Linked DNA regions of Homo sapiens: region 2 is linked to region 1. The links are contacts of gene promoters, found by promoter capture Hi-C in human tissues and cell types (Jung and others, 2019). All regions are on one chromosome and are shown on one strand. The core of a region is centred on a gene start or on the middle of the fragment in contact, and the rest is flanking DNA. Distances in the headings are between cores, read along the strand shown. Region 1 holds the start of SEC61G (SEC61 translocon subunit gamma). Region 2 has its middle 210 kb from the start of POM121L12.

Evidence for each region. The method cuts DNA at HindIII sites, captures the fragments that hold promoters and counts their contacts. A contact is called where the count stands out against the background at its distance.
Region 2: a fragment that was not itself captured here is called in contact with the fragment with the promoter of SEC61G in region 1 in 1 of the 25 tissues and cell types used here (dorsolateral prefrontal cortex).

What each region holds. Positions count from the first base shown.
Region 1 is chr7:54,756,903-54,761,269 of GRCh38, reverse strand. SEC61G (SEC61 translocon subunit gamma) reads left to right here and starts at 2,059. Exons shown (of 4, transcript NM_014302.4): 1 at 2,059-2,112; 2 at 3,676-3,775. The coding sequence starts at 3,682. SEC61G-DT (SEC61G divergent transcript) reads right to left here and starts at 1,957. Exons shown (of 3, transcript NR_110040.1): 1 at 1,746-1,957. RefSeq lists an enhancer at 921-1,856 and a silencer at 2,090-2,409. The HindIII fragment of the contact is 11,909 bases long and covers 1-2,857 here.
Region 2 is chr7:52,820,769-52,825,235 of GRCh38, reverse strand. No RefSeq gene overlaps it. Among named protein-coding and RNA genes, the nearest start is that of POM121L12, 210 kb to the left of the region's middle. The HindIII fragment of the contact is 5,936 bases long and covers 1-4,467 here.

The DNA of each region.
Region 1 (4,367 bases), core at 810-3,309:
GTTATCAATAAAGTTACTACGAACATTCCTGTACAAGTCTTTCTGTGAATTTAGTTTCATATATCTTCAATAAGTACCTGGAATTGGAATTGTGGAGCCATAGGTGGTGTATATATGCTTCATATTATGATAAACTACTAAACTTTTCCCAAAAGGGTTATGCCATTTTACACTCCTAGTAACCAGGAATTAGAGTTCTAGAGTTCTGATTGTTACGTATTTTTGCACAGATTTGCTGTTATCAGCCTGTTTTTTTTTTTTTTTTTTTTTACAGACGGAGTCTTGCTCTGTTGCCCAGGCTGGAGTGCAGTCGTGTGACCTCAGCTCACTGCAACCTCCACCTCCCGGGTTCAAGGGATTCTCTTGCCTCAGCCTCCTGAGTAGCTAGGGTTACAGGCATGCGACACCATTCCAGACTAATTTTTGTATTTTTAGTGGAGACGGGGTTTCTCCACGTTGGTCTGGCTGGTCTCAAACTCCCGAAATCAGGTGAGTAGACAATTATAACAATACACTGTAATGAAAGTTATTTGAATGTGGCCTCTCCCAGATTACCTTCTGGTACACATCTCTTTTTGAACCAGATTTTCTTGGATAAGGGGAACCACTGTATGTGTTACTTGATTTTCTGTGTTTTGCTGAAAATACTGTCAACTCAGACATTTGGTGGTTGGGGTGAACTTGCCAACATGTGATTTTATGTTTTTTTGGAATGAATTATTTTTTTGAAAATTATTTATTGAGCATTTACTGTGTTTAGCACTTTACTAGATGCTATATTATACCCACTTGGAGCTTATGGTCTAGTAAGGGGATTTACAGTGTAGGGAGACAGACCGAGGAATAAATAAATAAATGTTAATACAAATGCTATGCAGCAAATGAAGAAGGTATTGTGAAAAAGGAAAAAAGAGCATGAGATAGACAGGATTGCCTTAGATGGTCACTATAGGCCTCTAAGGAGATGACACATGGGCTGAAGTCCCAGGGATGAAGAACTAGTCAAACGCATCTCAGTCTGTTCAGAATTTAAAAGTGACTCTTAAAGCTAAGGCAAGGTATGTGTAGTGTGTATGGACCACCTACAGTCAGATATACGGAGGTGTGTGACCTCTAACCCTGACCCACTGAATCAATATCTGGAGGTTCTGGGGTTACAAATTTCATTTACTAAAAAACTTAACAGGAGATTTCAGTTACTGAAGAAGTTTAAGAAGCACTGAGAGTTGTAACACGTCTTAATGTTCCATCAGCTCTTCCTGAGTTATATTGTTCCTCAGATCCCGTTATGCTCCATTGCTAAAAGGAAACATGGCCGGGCGCGGTGGCTCACGTCTGTAATCCCAGCACTTTGGGAGGCCGAGGCGGGTGGATCGCGAGGTCAGGAGTTCAAGACCAGCCTGGCCAATATGGTGAAACCCCGTCTCTACTGACGGTTTCAGCCATCCGGCGGGGGGTTCCTGGAATGCATCCTTGTGGGTAAGTGGGGAGCTGTGTGTACATTATGACCACTCCCGTAACCAAACCTAGCGTTTGACAAAGGCCTCAATTACAGCGGCATTCATTACCGTGAATGACAGCCAAAGTCAAAGTTTGGGGTGGGGATACTATTTTGAATTAGGCCATAACATTATATTGCTCATAAGCTTCATTTCGACCAACATTATATACATACAAAAAGTATGTACCGTAAGGACACACATCAAGCTGGACCGCAGGAAAAAAAACCACAACTTAGGATTTACCTAGTCAGCCGCTACTAGAGAGCAAGCACCGCGCAAGGCCGCTGGGGCTCGTGCTGTGGACGTGAGTGGGTTGAGGTCGGGCTGGTGGGGTAACCCGGGATCCAGCCGGAAAAAAGGGATAACGCTAGACTCACACTCCTAAGGAAGGCCAACGCCCCAACTAGCGAGCTCCGCAATGCATCTCTTCCAGGAAGCGTGGCCGGGCGCACGTCGCGCTGCGCTTGCGCACTGAGGTTTCGCGTAAGGAACCAATAGGACGGAGGAGTGGGCGGGCTGTTGGCAGAAACCCGGATTCCGGTTCCGGTGGGCCTCCATCAGCAAGCTCCAGTGCTACGTGTCCCTGGCATTTTAGGTGTCGGTTGGGTAGGTGAGTTTCTTCCCACCGGTCGGTACGGGCGAACGGGGCGGCCACACCTTTGCGACTCTTGGGGGCAGCGGGCGTGGGCGAGCCGGCGTGTCTCCCCGGGCGGCCGTCGCGGGGCGGGCGGTAAGTGGTCCCCTGGCTCAGGGCCGGGGTCTGGCCGCCGACATCCCACCAACTCGGCCTCTGGCGGAAGGCAGACCCAGGGCCGCGGACTCCCGGCGAGCTGGGTGGCCGGCCCGCGGGGCTCCAGGGCTTAGCGTCCTGCCCCGGCGTCTTCTGTGCTGCAGCCAAAGATGATGTCCTGCTGCCCGATCCCTTCGGGGTTGGCTCTGTGTGCTGTTGTGGAGTCCTGTCTGGGAAGAGCTGTACTCAGCTCTGGTCCTGCCGCCGCTTCCGTGGTTTAAAGTGAGAGCATTGGTCTAGAGTCTAGTTCGAGAGATCATAGTTGGTTTTTGGATCTCTACCCCTGACATTGAGTGCGGTATTGTGTGTAGCGTGCGTTTTTCTGGATAAAGAATTCTTAGCTTCCTTCGTGACAACTATGATTACAAAAAGTTTAAGCCCTTTGGATTTCAAGAGCAAAGTTGAGTGAAATACTGAGAAAACAGACATTACTGTGTTTTTGCCCCCAGAACGTTGCAGAATTCCTGGTGTTTCATTGACATTATTTCATTTCGTTGTCCACACCCTACACTAAGGAAGGCAACTGGGGCTTACAGAGGTTTACATTCCATAGCCAGTGATTTGAACTACCACCTGGCCACTGTTCTGAGTACTGGAAATGGAGGAAAATACAAATAACACCCTGGCTGCTTTACTTACTATAGCAGTGGCTCTCAAAGCTAAGATCGGATAACATTTCTATTGGGTAATAGATTCCTCAAAAGAACCTGTATGGTAAAATATATAGCCCTGTTTCCTTAAAAGATGTGTTCAAATCGAAAAGTTTGAAATTTAGCTAGTAGCTTCTCAGAATTTGCGTCTTCCTTTAGCCATTCTTTATACTTTAGAAAAGTATGTTGTATTGGCACGTTTTAGAAAAATCAAGGTTGAAATTCACGTTTGCCTCTATTCTAGGCTCTTGCAGCACCGTAGTTGGCATTCACTGTACAAGACACTGGCTTCTGCGTAGTTTAAAATAAAATATGGAAAGTAATTGTTGGATCTCAACACTGATGGTTCCTTAGGAGCGGTGAGGGGACTGTAGAATGAGAAATGGATGGGACTGCAGAGTGAGAAAAGGAATGGATGTGTTACCAATTGCGTAACCTTTTTTAACCTTTTAATAGAGATAGGCTTTTTATATTGCGTGTGCTGTTCTTTGTCAGTGAAGATATCATGAGTAAGATCTGTGCTTTTCTTATTGCCTTTGATAATTAACTGAAATTTCCAAAAATAATATCAATTTAGGCTTTGGAGTTTGTTTTTTGTTTTATTTTAGGAGGTGGAATTGACCCATGTTAGACGTGAATTCAGTGGCTGGTCTCATTTACATCTTTATATAAATGAGCAAGTGCTTATTGTATGAGAACCAATACCAGTGAGTATCTTTTTTGTTTTAAACAGGCAGTCATGGATCAGGTAATGCAGTTTGTTGAGCCAAGTCGGCAGTTTGTAAAGGACTCCATTCGGCTGGTTAAAAGATGCACTAAACCTGATAGAAAAGGTAATTGCTTGACTATGAGAGAAAAAATTAAATCTTTGCATTTTCTAAGCCTTTTGTTTGATTAACATCTTGATTAATAGCCCTTGCATTACTTTGATCAACATTTTTATTGATTGATCCTGCGCGACAGCTTTTTAACGTTGTCACTTCTTCCTAAATTTTTTACTCGTCTAAATTTTTATGTATTTTCAAATGGTGTAAGATTATTTATTACAGCCTTATGTTCCATGTAACATTTTAGTTAGTAACATTTTATGACTTTTAGTATCTTACATATTTTCTCTTTGGAAAAGCTTTGAAGTCTCCCTACTCAGCTCCCACCCCAACGAACAAAACCTTAACATGAAACCAACAATATAGTTTTTGCCAAACTAGAAAGTTAATTTTGTTATTTATCATGATTCATGTGTTAAATTTGTCTACTTTTATTCATTCATTGAGTTAGGAGCTGGTAATATAATAGAGAATATAACATGTATATAATATAGTATATAGTATATAATATAGTATATAGTATATAGTATATATAGTATATAGTATATATATAGTATAGTATATAGTATATAATATAGTATATAACATGTATATATTA
Region 2 (4,467 bases), core at 677-3,176, 1.9 Mb after region 1:
CTTTTCTCCCCCTCTCTCTCTTTCTCTTTCCCTCTCTCAAAAGCTACAGTGACATTTCCCTTCCTGTTCTTTTATAGAACCAAAGAAAATCTTTAACAACAAATAAGATGATTTGACAGATGTGTTACAAAGTCTAAAGAGTTCTATTTCATATGTCAGATATTTCTATTTAAGCAATGGCACACATTTTGCTGATATACTTTGTGTGCTCAAAACCCCACAAGTACTACTATAAGAATGTGGAGCCTCTTGGAGCGCATCATTCTCTTAATGTAATCCTCAAATCCCACTTTCTAGTGGAAGCTACTATTTATATTAATCTCTATTCGGACCTTATATGAGAATTTATGTTCCTTTATGTAATTTGAAAACTGCAGGGATGTAAATAGTATTAATTATATAATTTTCACTTCTCTATCCTCATCTGGATTTAATGTACTGATTTAATATGTGTAAATATATTATAGATTTAATATATTTATTAAATATATTAAATATATTTTTAAAATATTTTTGCAAACATTTGTAAAAATATTTAATTTACAAATAGTATTGTATATATTCAAAGTATACAATGCAATGCTTTGATATACACACACACACACACACACATATATATATATAGTATATTGAATATCACAATCAAATTAATTAACACATCCATCACCACCCATACTGGACATTATATCCCTAGAACTAATTCATTGTATAAGTAAAATGTTGTGCCTTTGATCAACATCTCTCCATTCCCCCTACCCCTCAGCCCCTGGAAGCTATTGTTCTACTTCTGCTTCTATAAGTTTAACTTTTTTAGATACCACAAATAAGTGAGACCATGTTATATTTGTATTTCTGTGTCTGTCATATTTCACTAGGTGTAACGTCCTCTAGTTTCACCTATGTTGTCACAGATAACCAGATTTCTTTTATGGCTGAATAATATTCCATTGTATCTCCCTTTCTCTCTCTCTCTCCTCTCTCTCCTCTCTCTCTCTCTTTTTCTCTCTCTGTGTGTGTGTGTGTGTGTGCGTGCATACATACATATAGATTGCATTTTCTTTCTTCACTCATCCACTGATGGCCACTTTGCTTGTTTTCATATTTTGATTATTGTGAACAATGCTACAATGAACATGAGGGTGCAGACTCCTTGTATTAGTTCATTTTCATGCTGCTTATAAAGACATACCTGAGACTGGGCAATGTACAAAAGAAAGAAGTTTAATTGGACTCACAGTTCCTTGAGGCTGGGGAGGCCTCACAATCATGATGGTAGGCAAGGAGGAGCAAGTTACATCTTACGTGGATGCCAGCAGGGAAAGAGAGAGCTTGTGCTGGGCAACTGGTGCTTTTAAAACCATGAGATCTCCTGAGACCTATTCACTATCATGAGAACAACATGGGAAAAACCTGCCCTCATAATTCAATCATCTTCCACCAGGTCCCTCTCACAACATGTGGGAATTATGGGAGCTACAAGATGAAATTTGGGTGGGGACACAGAGCAAAACTATATCACACCTTTTCAATGTACATATTTCATTTCTTTTTTATTGCTTGATCATATGGTAGTCCTATTTTAAAAATTGTCAGCAGACCCTATACTGTTTCATAATGGATGTACCAATTTACATTACTACCAGAAGTGTACAAGGATCCCTTTTATCCACACTTTTGCTAACACTTATCCTTTTTTCATTTGGATAATAGCCATCCTAACAAGCATGACAAGTATGAAGTGATATTTTGTTTGATTTGCATATTCTTAATGATTAGCGATATTTAGTACCTTTTTCATATACCAGATCATTTATTTGCTTTCTTTGGGAAGCTGTCTATTCAGGACCTTTGCTCATTTTAAAATATTATTATTATTATTTTGTTACAAAGTTGTGTGAGTTCCATATGTATTTCGGATATTAATCCCTTGTCAGATATATGGTTTGCAAATATTTTCTCGCATATCTTAGGTGGCCTTTTAATTTTGTTTGTTTCTTTAGCTCTATAAAAGCTTTGTAGTTTAATGTAACCCTACTTGTTTACTTTTGCTTTTGTTTCCTGTGCTTTTGGTGTCATATACAAAAAAAGTTATTACCAAGACTGACACGCTTTGGATTTGTGTCCCTGCCAAAATCTCATGTCAAATTGGAGGAGGGGCCAAGTGTGAGGTGATTGGATTATGGGGACAGACTTCAGCCTTGCTGTTCTCCTGATAGTGAGTGAGTTCTCACAAGATCTGATGGCTTAAAACTGTGTGGCAGTTCTTGCTTCACTCTCTCTCTCTCCTGATGCCATATGAAGAAGATCCTTGCCTCTCCTCACCTTCCACCATGATTGAAAGTTTTGTGAGGCCTCACAGTCATGTTTCCTGGAAAGCCTGTGGAACTGTCAGTGAATTAAATTTTTCTTCACAAATTACCCAGTCTCAGGTAGTTCTTTACAGCAGTGTAAAAATGGACTAACACAGAAAATTGGTACCAGGGGAGTGTGGCACTGCTATAAAGACACCTGAAAATGTGAAAAGAAACTGTGAAACTGGGTAATGGGCAGAGGTTAGAAGGGTTTGGAGGGCTCTGAAAAAGACAGAAAGATGTGGGAAAGTTTGAAACTTCCCAGGGACTTGTTGAATGATTGTGACCAAATGCTAATGGTGATAAGGACAATAAAGTCCAGGCTGATGTGGTTTCAGATGGAGATGAGGAATTTACTGAGAACTGGAGTAAGGGTCACTCTTGCTATGCTTTAGCAAAGAGATTGGTGGCCTTGTGCCCCTGCCCCAGGAATCTGTGCAACTTTGAACTTGAGAGAGATGATTTAGGGTGTCTGGTGGAAGAAATCTTTGAGCAGCAAAGCATTCAAAATGTGCCCTGGCTGCTCATAACAGCATACAGTCATATGCATTCACAGAGAGATGTCTGAAATTGGAACTTATGTTTAAAAGGGAAGCAGAGCATAAAAGTTTGGAAAGTTTGTAGCCTGAGTATGTTTCAGAAAAGAAAAACCCATTTTCTGAAAAGAAATTCAAGCCTCCTGCAGAAACTTGCATAAGTAAATGAGGAGCTAAACGTTAATAGCCATGACAATGGGGAAAATGTCTCCAGGGCATTTCCGAGATCTTTGCAGCACCCTCTCCCATAACAGGCCTGGAGGCCTAGGAGGGAACAATGGTTTCGCAGGCCGGGCCCAGGTCCCTGCTTCTCTTTGCAGCCTTGGAACATGGCACACTGTGTCCCAGTTGCTCCAGCTCCATCCATGGCTAAAGGGGGCCAAGGTATATAGCTCAGGCCATTGCTTCAGAAGGTGCAAGCCCAAAGCTCTGACAGCTTCCATGTTGTATTGGGCCTGCAGGTGCACAGAAGGCAAGAGTTGAGGCTTGGAAACCTATGCTTGGATTTCAGAGGATGTATGGAAAGACCTGGATGTCCAGGCAGAAGTCTGCGGCAGAGGTGGAACCCTCTTGGAGACCCTCTACTAGGGCAGTGCAGAGGGGAAATGTGGGGTTGGAGACCCCAAACATAGTCCCCCCTGGGGCATTGCCTAGTGGAGCTGTGAGAAGAGGGACACTGTTCTCCAGACCCCAGAATAGTAGGTCCACCAACAGCTTGCACCATGCACCTGGAAAAGCTGCAAGCACTCAACACCAACCCATGAAACAGCTGTGGGTGCTGTACCCTGTACAGCCACAGAGGCAGAGCTGCCAAAGGCCTTGGGAGCCTACCTCTTGCATCAACGTGCCCTGGATGTGAGACATGGAATCAGAGGAGATTATTTTTGAGCTTTAAGATTTAATGACTGCCTTCTGGGTTTCGGACTTGCATGGGCCCTGTAGAGCCTTTGTTTTGGCCAATTTCTCCCAGGTGGAATAGAAGCATTTATCCAATGCCTGTAACCCAGTTGTATCTTGGAAGTAACTAACTTGTTTATTTTTGCTATTGTTTCCTGTGCTATTGGTGTCATATACTAAAATATTATTACCAAGACCAATGGCAAAGAACTTCTTTCCTATATTTTCCCTGAAAATTTCACAATTTCTGATCTGACATTTAAGTCTTTAATCCATTTCAGGTTAACGTTTATATATGGTTTAAGAAAAGGGTCTAAATTTATTCTTTTCCACATGAACATCCATTTTTCAAAAATATTTATTGAAGAGGCTTTCTTCATTGTGTATTTGTAGCATCATTTTCAAAGATTAGTTTACTATATATGCATGGGTTTATTTCCGGGTTCTGTATTCTGTTTCATTTGTCTATATGTCTGCCCTTATGCCTGTACCACGCTGTTTTGATTACTATAGTTTTGCAGTATAGTTTGAAATTAGGGCGTGTCATCCCACTGACTTTGTTATATTTTCTTAAAATTGCTTTGACTGTTTGGGGTCCAATACAAATTTTGTTATTTTTTTCTATTTCTGTGAAAAATGTCATTGGAATTTTGATAGCAACTTCATTGAATCTATAAATTAAG